Linked DNA regions of Homo sapiens: all the other regions are linked to region 2. Evidence: promoter capture Hi-C in 16 types of primary human blood cells and fetal thymus (Javierre and others, 2016). All regions are on one chromosome and are shown on one strand. The core of a region is centred on a gene start or on the middle of the fragment in contact, and the rest is flanking DNA. Distances in the headings are between cores, read along the strand shown. Region 1 has its middle 220 kb from the start of LINC02104. Region 2 holds the start of C7 (complement C7). Region 3 has its middle 200 kb from the start of LINC02104.

Evidence for each region. Contacts are between HindIII fragments. The CHiCAGO score rates a contact against its expected background, and 5 or more counts as called.
Region 1: a fragment that was not itself captured here is called in contact with the fragment with the promoter of C7 in region 2 in 1 of 17 cell types (activated CD4 T cells); the score reaches 5.7 in activated CD4 T cells.
Region 3: a contact is called between a fragment that was not itself captured here and the fragment with the promoter of C7 in region 2, in 1 of 17 cell types (fetal thymus). The highest score is 5.2, in fetal thymus.

What each region holds. Positions count from the first base shown.
Region 1 is chr5:39,740,004-39,744,306 of GRCh38, reverse strand. No RefSeq gene overlaps it. Among named protein-coding and RNA genes, the nearest start is that of LINC02104, 220 kb to the right of the region's middle. RefSeq lists a silencer at 3,508-3,734. The HindIII fragment of the contact is 2,318 bases long and covers 951-3,268 here.
Region 2 is chr5:40,907,740-40,912,267 of GRCh38, reverse strand. It overlaps C7 (complement C7), which reads right to left and starts at 2,771. Exons shown (of 18, transcript NM_000587.4): 1 at 2,652-2,771. The coding sequence starts at 2,657. It also overlaps the pseudogene RNU7-161P. The HindIII fragment of the contact is 6,323 bases long and covers 1-4,138 here.
Region 3 is chr5:39,716,060-39,720,575 of GRCh38, reverse strand. It overlaps the pseudogene INTS6P1. Among named protein-coding and RNA genes, the nearest start is that of LINC02104, 200 kb to the right of the region's middle. The HindIII fragment of the contact is 1,248 bases long and covers 2,348-3,595 here.

The DNA.
Region 1 (4,303 bases), core at 860-3,359, 1.2 Mb after region 2:
CATTAACACAACATATAGCTAAAAAATTATGCTTTCATATCATTGTTGTCCTCTCCAACTCAACAAAAATGATGTGTGCATGTGTGTATTCCAGTGTGGTGAGGAAGAGGTCGTTACAAAACACTTATAAGTAAAACAGAAAGTATGCTCCTAATTTATGGCATTAACCAATCCCTGTATAAAACTATAACTCAATCACACATTGACCATGAGGTGTAGCTTATCTTGTACTGTACTTTTTTCTAAAAAAAGTATACCTTATCAGTACTTTTTAAAAAGTAAAATCCAAGATAAACTACATTTAATGGTACACTTTAAATGGGTGTAAGTGTATGCTATGTGAGTTACATTCCAATAAAACTCTTAGTTTTAAATTGGAGATGAGTAACTAACATCTCAATGGAAGAGGGACAAGTGATATAAGGACAATCTTATGCAAGAACTCTTTAAAGCATACAAAATGAGGATGTGATGTAAAAGAAACCATGCTTATATAATTACACTCACCCCCCACACACACACAAACACACAAACAATAAGAACATCACATCATTCATGGTTTCCTACAATTCTAAAACTATGTGGTATTCTTCGACATTAAAAAGAGGCAGTTAACGTTTTACTTCTTCCTTCTATGTAGCAACTTACATATTGGTATAAATATATATCTGCTATTCTTTAACTGGACAAATGGGTATCTGAAACAATAGTAACGATTTGGAAATGTTAGAGCTACATGTGACCTAAAGGCCCATTTAGTCTGGTACTAATTCTACAGACAGTATTAGAATCCCAGAGAGCTAAAGACATTGTCCAGAGAACTTGTGAAACACAGAGTGGAACCAGTCACCAATTCCCTTACTTAATGGTAGAGCACCATACCCCAATGCCCTGGCACCATGCCTTGTGAAACTACTTGAACTTGGAAAAGTGTGAGGTAAGCAAAAGCTTATAAATTATGACTATTTGAAAGTAAAGATGGAAACGATCCAAAGAAGCAAAGTTCTGGGCATATAAGAAAAATTAAAGAAAAATAAACTATAGAAAATTTCAAGATAAACTCTGGAATGATAATCAAAAGGAGAGTTTTTAATTGAGTAAGATACCAAAGTTGTCCACTGAAACACAGCAGCACCACTAAGGGCCTCTGGCAGCAATGAGAGAAGCACGCCTCAGACAGACTCTCATCTTGAATCACGAAGACTGAGTCAAGCAGGCCAAGCTGTTCAGTGGGGAAGAGAAATGATGAATGATTAGATAGATTCATCACCAAGGTCCTCTGTAGACAGCCTCAGAGTGTGTTCACTCTTCAAATGGAAATAATACATTACATAGAACTCCCACATAAAAGGACATACAATATGTAACAAAGAAAAATAATGAATAATAAGTGAAATCATAATAATGAGATCTACTTTATTGGTGCTGTGTATATTACTGCGTAAGTCCAAACTCAATATCCAGGACTGTCACTGGAATATAATTTCTCATGTTTAAAAAAAAAAAAAGGTCAAACAACTTTTCAATAATTTATCTCACATGTTTAGAATATTGTATGAATTACTTTCTATAATTTATTCAAGTTTAAGTAAACTGGAAAATATGATCTTTTCAAGGTTCTCATATTAATGAAACATCTGCAAAGAAACAGCCCTTTCTGCACATCTGGCAAAGGTAAAATTCATGCTCTGTCTAGTCTGTCAAAACTGAGTGAAATTGCCCAACATTCGCAGGGCCTGGAGCAAGAGTACAAATGGAAGCCCATGGACCATATGTCTGTCTGTAACAGCATGAATCAAATGAAAACTATTTAATAAAAGATACCCCACACTCCTACATTGCTAACTGCACCTTCAAAACACTAAAATGTAAAATATTTAACTAAAAGTCAATGAAATATCAAAGATAATGTATTAAATTATTGTAGAACATACATCACCCTGCAGACGTATCGGTAGTGTTTAGAAGAGTTATAAAAATATATATAAAATTCAGAAGTTAGGTCTGAATTGTGTAGAATTACACAATAAAATTTACTTTTATTGCTTTAATTTTAGCACAATAGCTAATTATAGTATTGTAGTTAATGTTTTCATAATTTTAATTGTCACAATAACAACATAAAGGATTAAAAATAACATGTAAATATATTCATTATAACAAATTTAAGTATAGTTTCATCAGAAATGTAAACTAAAGTGAAAATAAAAACAAAGTAGTAAAATCATTTAATATACTTGTTAAAACTTAATTTTTCTAAAATATTGAAAATTATATCAATGTTTACAGGAAAATATATTTGTAGAATATCAAATCTGAAATAAATAACTTTAAAATTAGCTGTGTTTTATTTAATTTGGAAAATTTAACTATGCTTATTTTATCCTTTTATAAACATACTCCCAATTTTGCAAATCAGCAATAGGAAAGTGTCAACACATTACACCACAGTGACCTGTCTTCTTAAACAATTGATTCAAAAACCTATAGAGTGCCATGGTGTAATTATGAACTTTAAATCTGACTAAATGAAACAAGTAACATGAGATTCTTTTTACCCTAAATACTTGAGGGAAAAACCCAAAATATGATTTTTAAATTAGTTATATTCTCACATTAAGACCTCTAGTTGATAGTGACTTTTCTAAAATCAGGGGTTATAATCATGTCCCCTGCTTTCTGGGTCATACTGTTTTTAACCTTACCTTATAGGAAGTCCGACCAATTCCATTTACACTGTTTTGCAGCCACTGAAAGTTTGTAAGGAACAAACCAAAAATTTCAGTGATCATTGTGTTCACTGTTATATCAATTCCTAAATCCTAAACTGTTTTTAACCTTACCTTACAGGAAGTCTGACCAATTCAATTCACACTGTTTTGCAGCCACTGAAAGTTTGTGAAGAACAAACCAAAAATTACAGTCAAGATTGCGTTCACTGTTATATCAATTCCTAAGTCCCAGGGTCCCAGAGAATAATCGATAATTAAAATATTTTTAAAATACCACAGAAGTACTTATATCAAAAAATAAGTAATTTTTTTTTTTTAGTTGTGACGGATGAAACCAACATACCATTATTTATACTTCTAAATGCTTTCAAAGGAAGAGTCTTCCAAATAGCAAGTGTAATTGTGGTCTGGATGAGCAGGGAGAAGGCAGGAAAGAGGGCTGCCTGGATGAAAACTGGAAACACATTTTCACAATGCAGCACATCCTGGATAGTCTCACAGATCAACTTACTCATGAGCCTAATCAAAACTAAGCTTTGAACTCACAAACTAGTATTTGTTCACTAAAAGCAATTCAATATTTTTCTCAATATCATACCTGAGTGACATAAACAAATTGATTCTCAGTGGAGTAAGAGATTGGCTCTCGAGTTTTGTATTATAGTGTTAAGACAGAACAAGGCCCTGGGAATCTTGTCTTGCAAGGCTGGTAGTGCTGATAATGGTTGAGAAATGTTGCCCTTCCACACTGATCTCTACTTTTCTTTGTTCTTTTCCAATCTTCTTTAATGTACCCTCCTCCCCTTCTTTCCCTATCGTCCTGTCAAGTTTTCTATGTTCTCAATTTCAGTTTGGCAGCATGTTTGCGTCAGAGTGGTTGCAAATGATGGAGGACTCTGTGGAGCCCGTGGGACATCAGCCCGCTGGCCGGGTTCCCTAGAGCGCTGCTCCACTGTCGCCAGGTCTCAGGGCTGGTAAGTATGTGTACAGACACGCCTGCATGCGTAGCCGCGACTGAATCACGGGTTCGTCATGAGTTCTTTTGCATGATATCAGTAACCACCAAAATCTCACCGCAGTTTCCCCAAGGCTGAATTTATTCATTTCAAAAAACAGCATCGGGAATATTCTAAGACTTTTACTACACAGAGGAACTGGTGAGGCAGTAAAATCGTTTTATTTGAAATAACAATAAAAAGCCAAATTGGAGTGCAGCTAGAAGGGATTAGACCACCACAAAACTAGCCTTACTGGAATTGCTTCCAAGAATGTTAACAATCTATTGGGAGACAGTATGTTTTCTGGAACCAAAATTGAAGGTGGGTGGGGAGAAGAATAGGCAAGTAAAGGCAGCCATGAGGAAACTGAACTTTCATCACCTTGAGCACGGTATTTTTGAGTATTAACTATGCTTGGCATGCAAAAAGCAGTTAAAAGTCTAACAACCAAGCGTGAACTTCACGCACCTAAATCTCCTGTGATAGTTCTAGACAATACTTGGCAATCCGCTTTGTAAATGGGTTTTAAACAAGTACTCATAATGATGAAACAATATAGAGGAACAAATTGCG
Region 2 (4,528 bases), core at 1,522-4,021:
TATTACAAGACCAGTTCTGTTCATGTTATACAAAGTGAATCTACTAACCAAAAGCATTTCTTGAAATTTGGCTAGCCTTAGGATAATTACCTTTGGAAAAAATACCTTATAAATGAACAAGAGAGATAGAACAAACACAAATAAATCATGTGAATGACAGTGATAGACATACATCTGAACTGACTCTATAAAAGAATTGCTTGGTTGAAGAAGTATGTGGGGCCGGGCGTGGTGGTTCATGCCTGTAATCCCAGCACTTTGGGAGGCCAAGGCAGGTGGATCATGAGGTCAGGAGTTCAAGACCAGCCTGGCCAATATGGTGAAACCCCATCTTTACTAAAAAAAAAAAAAAAATACAAAAATTAGCAAGGCATGGTGGCGCACGCCTGTAGCCCCAGCTACTCAGGAGGCTGAGGCAGAAGAATCGCTTGAACCCAGGAGGCGGAAGTTGGAGTGAGCAGAGATCGTACCTCTGCACTCCAGCCTGGGCAACAGAGTGAGACTTTGTCTCAAAAAAAAAAAAAAAAGAAAGAAAGAAAAAGTGTGTGGTATTTTTGTTCTGTGTCAATGTAGCTAAGCTGGAACTACATTCCCCTGAATTATCTTCTCCTCTTTATCATCAATGAATGAGCATTAGCTCTACCTCCTTCTTCCAGTATGTCCCAGCTACAATCCTGATTTGAGACATTACTGTGCTTGACCATCACTGTGCTTGGGCACTGTGACGACCATTCCCTAGATTCACAGGCCCCAAGCTCAGCTCTCTCCTGGAGGGACGGAACAAATGGCTGGGCCACAGCCAGCTCCGAGGGAAGTCCCTTGTCCCTGACATCCTTCTCCAACACCTCAGATCCAAGTTATTTCCTATCCAAGAACACAGAGAGAACCAAAGGGAATCCTGTGACTGTCTCTCTGAATTTAGTTCACGTGGGGGCTGTGGGGCCAAAACATTGCTTCCTCTTAAAAAGTCTGACATAGAAACCATTTCTAGCTTCTTGATAGCCCAAGGCTTTCACAAGTGTCCCTTCTTTGTCACATATCACCAAAGCATGTCCTTCAGGTTTACTGTAAAAATATGAATGTCCACTTTCAAATACAGGTAAGAACTCTACATGCGACTTGGAGTGAAATAATTGCTTTAGTGTTACAGTTGTTTTAGAACTTGTCTATCAGGCTTCCCAATTTTTGCTGGAAAGCCCCTATATGTAAAATTTTTAAAAAATTAATTGCTTTATTTGTTGATATTTTGTCAACTAATTAAAGGATAGAAGTATATTTATTATTACAGCAGTAAAATATTATAATAATGATTGTAAACATGTTTTTAAGCACAAAGCAATTATTAAGATTTCTTATTGTAAAATAAAGTAAAAGATTAATAGTTAACACAAATATTAGGAAAAAACATTTTGGCTAGATAACTTTCAGAAGAGCATCATTTTCTTTTCTTGTTTTTTTTTTGTTTTTTTTTTTTTTGAGAGAGAGTCTCACCTTATTGCCCAGGCTGGAGTGCAGTGTCTAGTGTTGCCATCTTTATGCCCATGAGTACCCAATATTTAGCTCCCACTTAAAAATTAAGAACATGGGGTATTTGATTGTCTGTTCCTGCGTTAATTTTCTTAGGATAATGACCTCTATCTGCCTCCATGTTGCTGCAAAGGACATGATTTCATTCTTTTTTATGACTGCCCATCATAACTTTAAACAAATTAACTTTGTTATTTGTGTTTAATTTTAATTATTTAATTTCACAGAAGGCATGGCTTAATCAAGATCCATATCTTGCTCCTCCTCTAACCCCAATAATGAGCGAGCTTGGATTCGGTGCCCCAATGGACAATACAGTGACTATGGAAGCAATCTAGCCACTGACAGATCTGTGAAATTATTCCTACAGTCTTACAATGCAACATTTTTAAAGTTTAAATACCAAAATTTACAATAATAAAATTTGAATAGCAATCTCAACTTATTTTTGCATTCCAGAGATTTAGTCTATGATAGCGATTTCTATCTTTGGTCTTATCTTTTGTTGAATAGCTTTTTGGTTGTGTTTTGTTTTGTTTTTTAATATTTGGCCTTTTTGCATTGGGCCAACATGTATACTTGGTAGACCTTTAGTTTTATTCCATCTACTCATATCTTCTATTCTCACAATGCTGACTCTTTCATCCAGGATTTCAAATTCTCAAGTTCCAAGCCTGCAAATTTGCTTTTCTATTAGCTCTTAGATAAATCGCAGGACCCTACTGCATGGCTCCTAATCCAAACAAGCAAAAAAAAAAAAAAAAAATACACCAGAGGAAAGTTTTTCCCAAGAAATAACAATAGTACTATTGTATTTCTTTATGACTTTATCGGGACTTTCATAAACATTGTCTCCAATTCCTGATTCCCAGACCTCTGGACCTATAATTTCACCACAAGATAAGAAAAAGGAATTCACTTTGGCTGAACTGTTAAATATGTTTAAATAAGGATTTCTAAACATCACCCCCAGGTCTTTTTCTTCTGTATTTTCCTCTGGCCTTCTATTTATTTGATGTCTTTCAGTTAGGTATTACACCTCTTCGTTTAAATTACATTTATATTACCCCCGTTCATTTGAAAAGATAGCTTCATTTACAAAAGTAATGAATTTATTGTCTTACCTTCATGTTTGGGAAAACATTCAGGGCAGAAGAGAGGAGGAAGATTTCCTCTGTAAGGGCCGGGTAAGTTTTCAACAGCAGGAAGAGCCCAGCAGGCTGCCTGCCTCTCTGCCTCTCCCTGCTCTAGATTATCTTGGCACTCATATATAGAGCAAGTGGTCCTGAGATTTAGCTCCTACCCCAACCGGATTCTCCAACGACAGCAAGAGCCTGACCTTGTACTTAATCTGTGCCTTGAAACCAGATGCATCTTATCAATTACACAGCCTTAGCTACAGCCAGCTGGGACTGTTTGGAAGTTATAGATATGTTTCTTAGAAACATATCTATAAATCAGGAAACACAGCAAATGTTCTCAGTTCAATGTTTAAGTGATTTTCAACCAAAGGAGACTCTGTAAGGCAAGGGATGAGCCTCCTTCTTGTTTCAATCTACTAAACTAAGTGGATGTTTTCATGATTCTCTTAAAAGGTGTTATATGCCAGACTTTGAGATTAAATATTTTATGAAAGAAAATATTTAAATGCAGTTCTGTCACTCAAAATCTAAATAGAATGTTCTGGAGTAGAATTTTTCCCCAAAGTACAGCCTAATACAACCCAATAGTCATCCCTTCATGCTTAACTTTCACAGAATAATCAGAAAGAATATCAATTTTTGTAAACATATTTGAGGACATCACTAATTTTCTCAAGAACTTCACTTAATCCTTTGATAATCAGATCACTGTGTTGGAAAGTTCTTCTCAGGGTCATTATCCACATCCATTTTCTCTCCTTTGCTTTTTATCTTGTCTTATTCTACCAGGTCTTTATTTTCCCATAGCTTTGCATTGATTCTAGCAAGTCCCCAACATCACCTTCATACATTTAATAAAATGCTGCTTATTTTGCAAGATTTTAGATTTCCTATTGAAACTGAGCTACAGTTGGCCAGGCGCGGTGGCTCATGCCTGTAATCCCAGCACTTTGGGAGGCCAAGGCGAGCGGACCAAGAGGTCAGGAGTTCGAGACCAGCCTGGACAATACAGTGAAACCCCGTCTCTACTAAAAACACAAAAAAATTAGCCAGGCATGGTAGCATGCACTTGTAGTCCCAGCTACTCAGGAGGCTGAGAGAGAAGAATCACTTGAACCCAGGAGGCGGAGGTTGCAGTGAGCTGAGATCGCACCACTGCACTCCAGCCTGGGAGACAGAGTGAGATTCCATCTCAAAAAAAAAAAAAAAAAAAAAATTGAGCTACAGTTTTATTTGTATTGTTGGACCAAATATTCTAACACTAGCTGCTAGTGCATTATGAGTGAGGTAGAATAAATGTTAAGCGGGAAAGAAAATTTGAGTTAAGAATAATTTTATAAGTAAACATTCCATTAGTGAAGATTTTCTAGCTTTAATGACTTTTTCTTCCTATATCCAAAGCACTGGAATAATAAAGACAACCCCTATCCTCCCCTCATAAATTAATGGTGGTTTCCAGAGACAAAGCTTCCGCATCTTTTGTTCAAAGCTTTAGTGATTTGTGTGGAAGAAATTTTGTCACAGAGACAAAGATCCTGACTCCTGAAAGAAATATTTTTTATTCAGCTCCAACTGCATAAATTCCAGATGCCATAGACTCATCTTAAATTCTCAATATACAATTCCATTTCAGCGGCTCTCTTAGTTTGGGTTCCCCCAGAAGTAGATTCAGAAACAAGAATTCAATTGCAAGTAGTTTGTTTTTGTTTTTGTTTTAAGAGATAATCTTAGAAAGCACCACTGGAAGTGGGAAAGTGAGATTGGGGAGAAAAGAAAGTCAATAAAGGGTGTTTTATCAAGCAAGAGACTCCAGTGGGCAATTTGAGTTCAGTTCTAATGAGGAACTCTGAAAGACATTG
Region 3 (4,516 bases), core at 1,722-4,221, 1.2 Mb after region 2:
AGTGCAAAATACAGTGAACTTGGTCATCCTTTTGGTTACTTGAAAGCCAGTATGGCACTGAACTGTGTCAATGTATTTGTGATGCCTTACAATTACCCAGTCCTTCCCCTCTTAGATGACTTGCTTAAAGTGCATAAAGCAAAACCAACACTGAAGTGGAGACAGTCATTTGAAAGTTATTTGAAGACCGTGCCTCCCTACTATCTCGGGCCCTTCAAGAAAGCTGTTAGTATGATGGGAGCACCTAACCTAATAGCAGACAGTATGGAATATGGACTTAGTTACAGTGTCATTTCATACCTCAAAAAACTGAGTCAACAGGCCAAAATAGAATCTGATCGAGTCATTGGATCTGTAGGCAAAAAAGGAGTACAGGAAACTGAAATAAAAGTCTGGAGCCAATCACATGGTTTATCAAGGGCATATAGGAAAGATTTTCAACAGCTCCTCCAGGGAATTTCAGATGTCCCTCACAGACTGCTAGACCTTAATATGAAGGAATACGCTGGGTTCCACGTTGCTTTGCTGAATAAGGATTTGAAGCCACAGACATTTAGAAATGCTTATGACATTCCAAGACGAAATCTTTTGGATCACTTAACAAGAATGAGATCTAATCTTTTGAAGCACACTCGCAGATTTCTTAAAGGACAGGACGAAGATCAAGTGCAGTGTTCCTATAGCACAAATGGGGAACTACCAGGAATACCTCAAGCAAGTTACCTTCTCCACTAAGAGAACTTGATCCTGATCAGCCGCAAAGGTTACATACATTTGGCAATTCCTTTAAGCTGGATAAAAAGGGTATGATGACAGATGAAGCAGATGAATTTGTGGCTGGACCTCAAAATAAACATAAATGACCTGGAGAATCAAATATGCAAGGGATCCCTAAAAGACGTCAGTGTATGTCTCCACTACTAAGAGGCAGACAGCAGAATCCTGTTGTAAACAATCATATCGGGGGAAAAGGACCACCTGCACCTACAACTCAAGCACAGCCAGATCTTATTAAGCTTCTTCCTCTTCATAAAATTTCAGAAACCACTAATGATTCGATAATACATGATGTGGTTGAAAATCATGTTGCAGACCAACTTTCGTCAGACATTACACCAAATGCTATGGATACTGAATTTTCAACATCTTCTCCAGCCAGTTTACTGGAAGGGCCAACCAATCATATGGAGGCTCCTGGTCATGACAATTTAGGAACGAATGACCTCACTGTTGGTGGATTTTTAGAAAATCATGAGGAGCCAAGAGATAAAGAACAATGTGCTGAAGAGAACATACCAGCATCTTCACTCAACAAAGGAAAGAAATTGATCCATTGCAGAAGCCATGAAGAGGTCAATATCGAACTAAAACCACAAATAATGAAAGAGATCTGAAAGCCAGGGAGAAAATATGAAAGAATCTTCACTTTACTGAAGCATGTGCAAGGCAGTTTACAAACAAGACTAATATTTTTACAAAATGTTATTAAAGAAGCATCAAGGTTTTAAAAACGAATGCTAATAGAACAACTGGAGAACTTCTTGGATGAAATTCATCGAAGAGCCAATCAGATCAACCATATTAATAGCAATTAAAAGAAAATAGAATGTGGCCACTTCACTATCTTCTTCAAATACAAAGTAAATACAAGACTGTTGTGATCTTGCATTCATTTTCTGACATGCATTGTCGGCTATTTGAAATACTAAAAGCAAATCTACAGATCATTTTCCGTCATTTTACAGTGACCTTTTCTTCATTTTGGTTTATTTTTGTAATGTGAAAAGTATCACTCTAAAAAACATTTTTATTTAACAAACTGAAAATATTCCTCCAAAGAAAAAAGAAAGAAAAATTCTTTTTGAAATATTATTGCTCATTGACAATGCACCTATTCACCCAAGAGCTCTGATAGACATGTACAAGGAGATTAGTGTTGTTTTCATGTCTGCTAACACAACATCCATTCTTCAGCCCACAGATCAAGGAGTAATTTCATCTTTCAAATTTCATTATTTAAGAAATACATTTGTAAGGCTATAGCTTCCATATATAGTGATTCTTCTGATAGATCTGGGCAAAGTAAATTCAAAACCTCTGGAAAGGATTCACCAGTCTAGATGCCATTAACATTTGTGATTCATGTGAAGAGGTGAAAATATCACTAACAGGAGTTTGGAAGAAGTTGATTCCAACCCTCATGGGTGACTCCGAGGAATTCAAGACTTCAGAGGAAGAAGTAACTGCAGAGGTAGGAGAAACAGCAAGAGATCTAGAATTCTAAGTGAAGCCTGAAGATGTGACAATTGCTACAAGCTCATGATCAAATTTGGAAAGATGAGAAGCTTCTTTTTATGGATAAGCCAAGAAAATGGTTTCTTGAGATGGAATCTATACCTGGTGAAGACGAGTTGAACATTGTTAAAATTACAAGAAAGGATTTAGAATGTGACATAAATTTATGTGTATATATATGTATAAATACACACATATATATGTATAATATAAACTTAATTGATCAAGCAGCAACAGGGTTAGAGAGGATTGACTCTAATTTTGGAAGAAGTTCTACTCTTGGAAAAATGCTACCAAACAGCATCGCATGCTACAGAGAAATCTTTTGTGAAAGGAAGAGTCAATCACTGTGGCAAACTTTATTGTTCTCTTATTTTAAGAAATTGCCACAGCCACCCCACCCTTTAGCAACCATCACTCTGATCAGTCAGCATCCATGAACCTCAAGGCAAGAACCTTCACCAGCAAAAAAATTACAACTCTCTCAAGGCTCAGATGATCATTAGCATTTTTTAGCAATAAAGTATTTTTTAAGGTTTCCACATTTTTTTACACATAATGCTATTGCATACTTACTAGACTACAGGATAGTGTAAACATAACTTTTATATGTACTGTGAAACCAAAACATTTGTGTGACTCACTTTATTGCAATATTCACTTTATTGTAGTGGTCTGGAACTGAACCTGAAATAACTCCTAGGTATGTATACATAAAACATAATTCTTAAAAAAGTTGTGTTTGTAAATATGTTGGAAGAAAATAATATTAAATATATTAAAAATGTAATGTATTTTTGGTGGTTAGATTATGACAAGTATTTTTTTGCAGTGTATATTCCATCTGCTACCATGAACTACATGTCTTTCGTGCCAGGGGAAAAATCATGCACTTAACACAAAAACCTTCAATTGCAAAATGTAGTCATTATTTTAACATTCCCTCTGCAGATGTTTTCTTTAAGAAAATAAGATGAACAAATCATTGCCAGCTGTTCAAATGATAAATACTCCGATCAAATAAGTATTGCTCTATTAAATTAATTAATGGGACCATTAGTCAAATTAATTTAACTATTAACTATCATAGTGTTAGACTATGCTTGTCTCTCTTCCCTTGTAAGTTTTGATTATGCAAATTTTAATAAAATTCACTGTAAAAGTATTTTGCCTTTGAAACTTTTTTAAAAAGTTACTATTGTAGCATATGCAACTGCCTTTAGCTAATATCCTCTTCCCACCTCCAAAATTTAATCATACTGTACCTCGAGCAGGAAGCCCTGAAGTCTGTAAATAAGCTTAGCAAAGGCCTGACATGTAAGCATACAAATGTTAGTTGCTTGTCATTCTGAATCTTTTGTGCCATTTGATTTTCTTTACATATGCAGCAACTTTCCCACCAAAAAGTAAACAAACAGAAACAGCTAGGCAAAAATAAATAGCTAGCTAGGTTAGCTAGCTACATTGATAGAGAGAGAGCAAACAAATTATCTAATGATTGAACAGTCTTGCTGGCTCTTTGTTTACCCCTCCAGATCAGTCACCACATCCCTCCACTCAGTTCTGTGCTATGGGAGTCTGACCTTATAGATTGCATCAGCTGCACCCAGCGCCCTCTGGCTTCCAATTTAGTTTGTTTAATGGAAGGTACAGACTGGCTAGCAGAGGAAAGTTCCCTCCCTACTGGGCCTTAGGTGGCAGTTGCTGGGTTTCTCTTCCAATGGACTTCCAGGAGGTCTTGTCTTTCAGCTATCCTAGCCTAAGGGTAGTGCTGGCTCTTTGCTCCTACTATTTACACTTTCTTTGGCTGGTCCACATCCTTGTTGGCATTGACAGTCTCTAACTTCAGCTCTTGTGATAGACGTGTATCTGTATTTCACTGTACTTTAATTTGCAATTCTCTAATCAATTGTACCTAGCCATTTGCACATCCCTTTTGTTATCCTTATTGATCATTGGAATACACTCTCTTGTGAGGAGTCTTTGCCTGTTTTCTAAAAAAATCAATTGTCAGGTGAGGCGCGGTGGCTCACACCTGTAATCCCAGCACTTTGGGAGGCCAAGGTGGGTGGATAGCGAGGTGAAGAGATGGAGACCATCCTGGCCAACATGGTGAAACCCCGTCTCTACTAAAAATACAAAAATTAGCCGGGCGTGGTGGTGCGTGCCTGTAGTCCCAGCTACTCGGGAGGCTGAAGCAGGAGAATCGCTTGAACCCGGG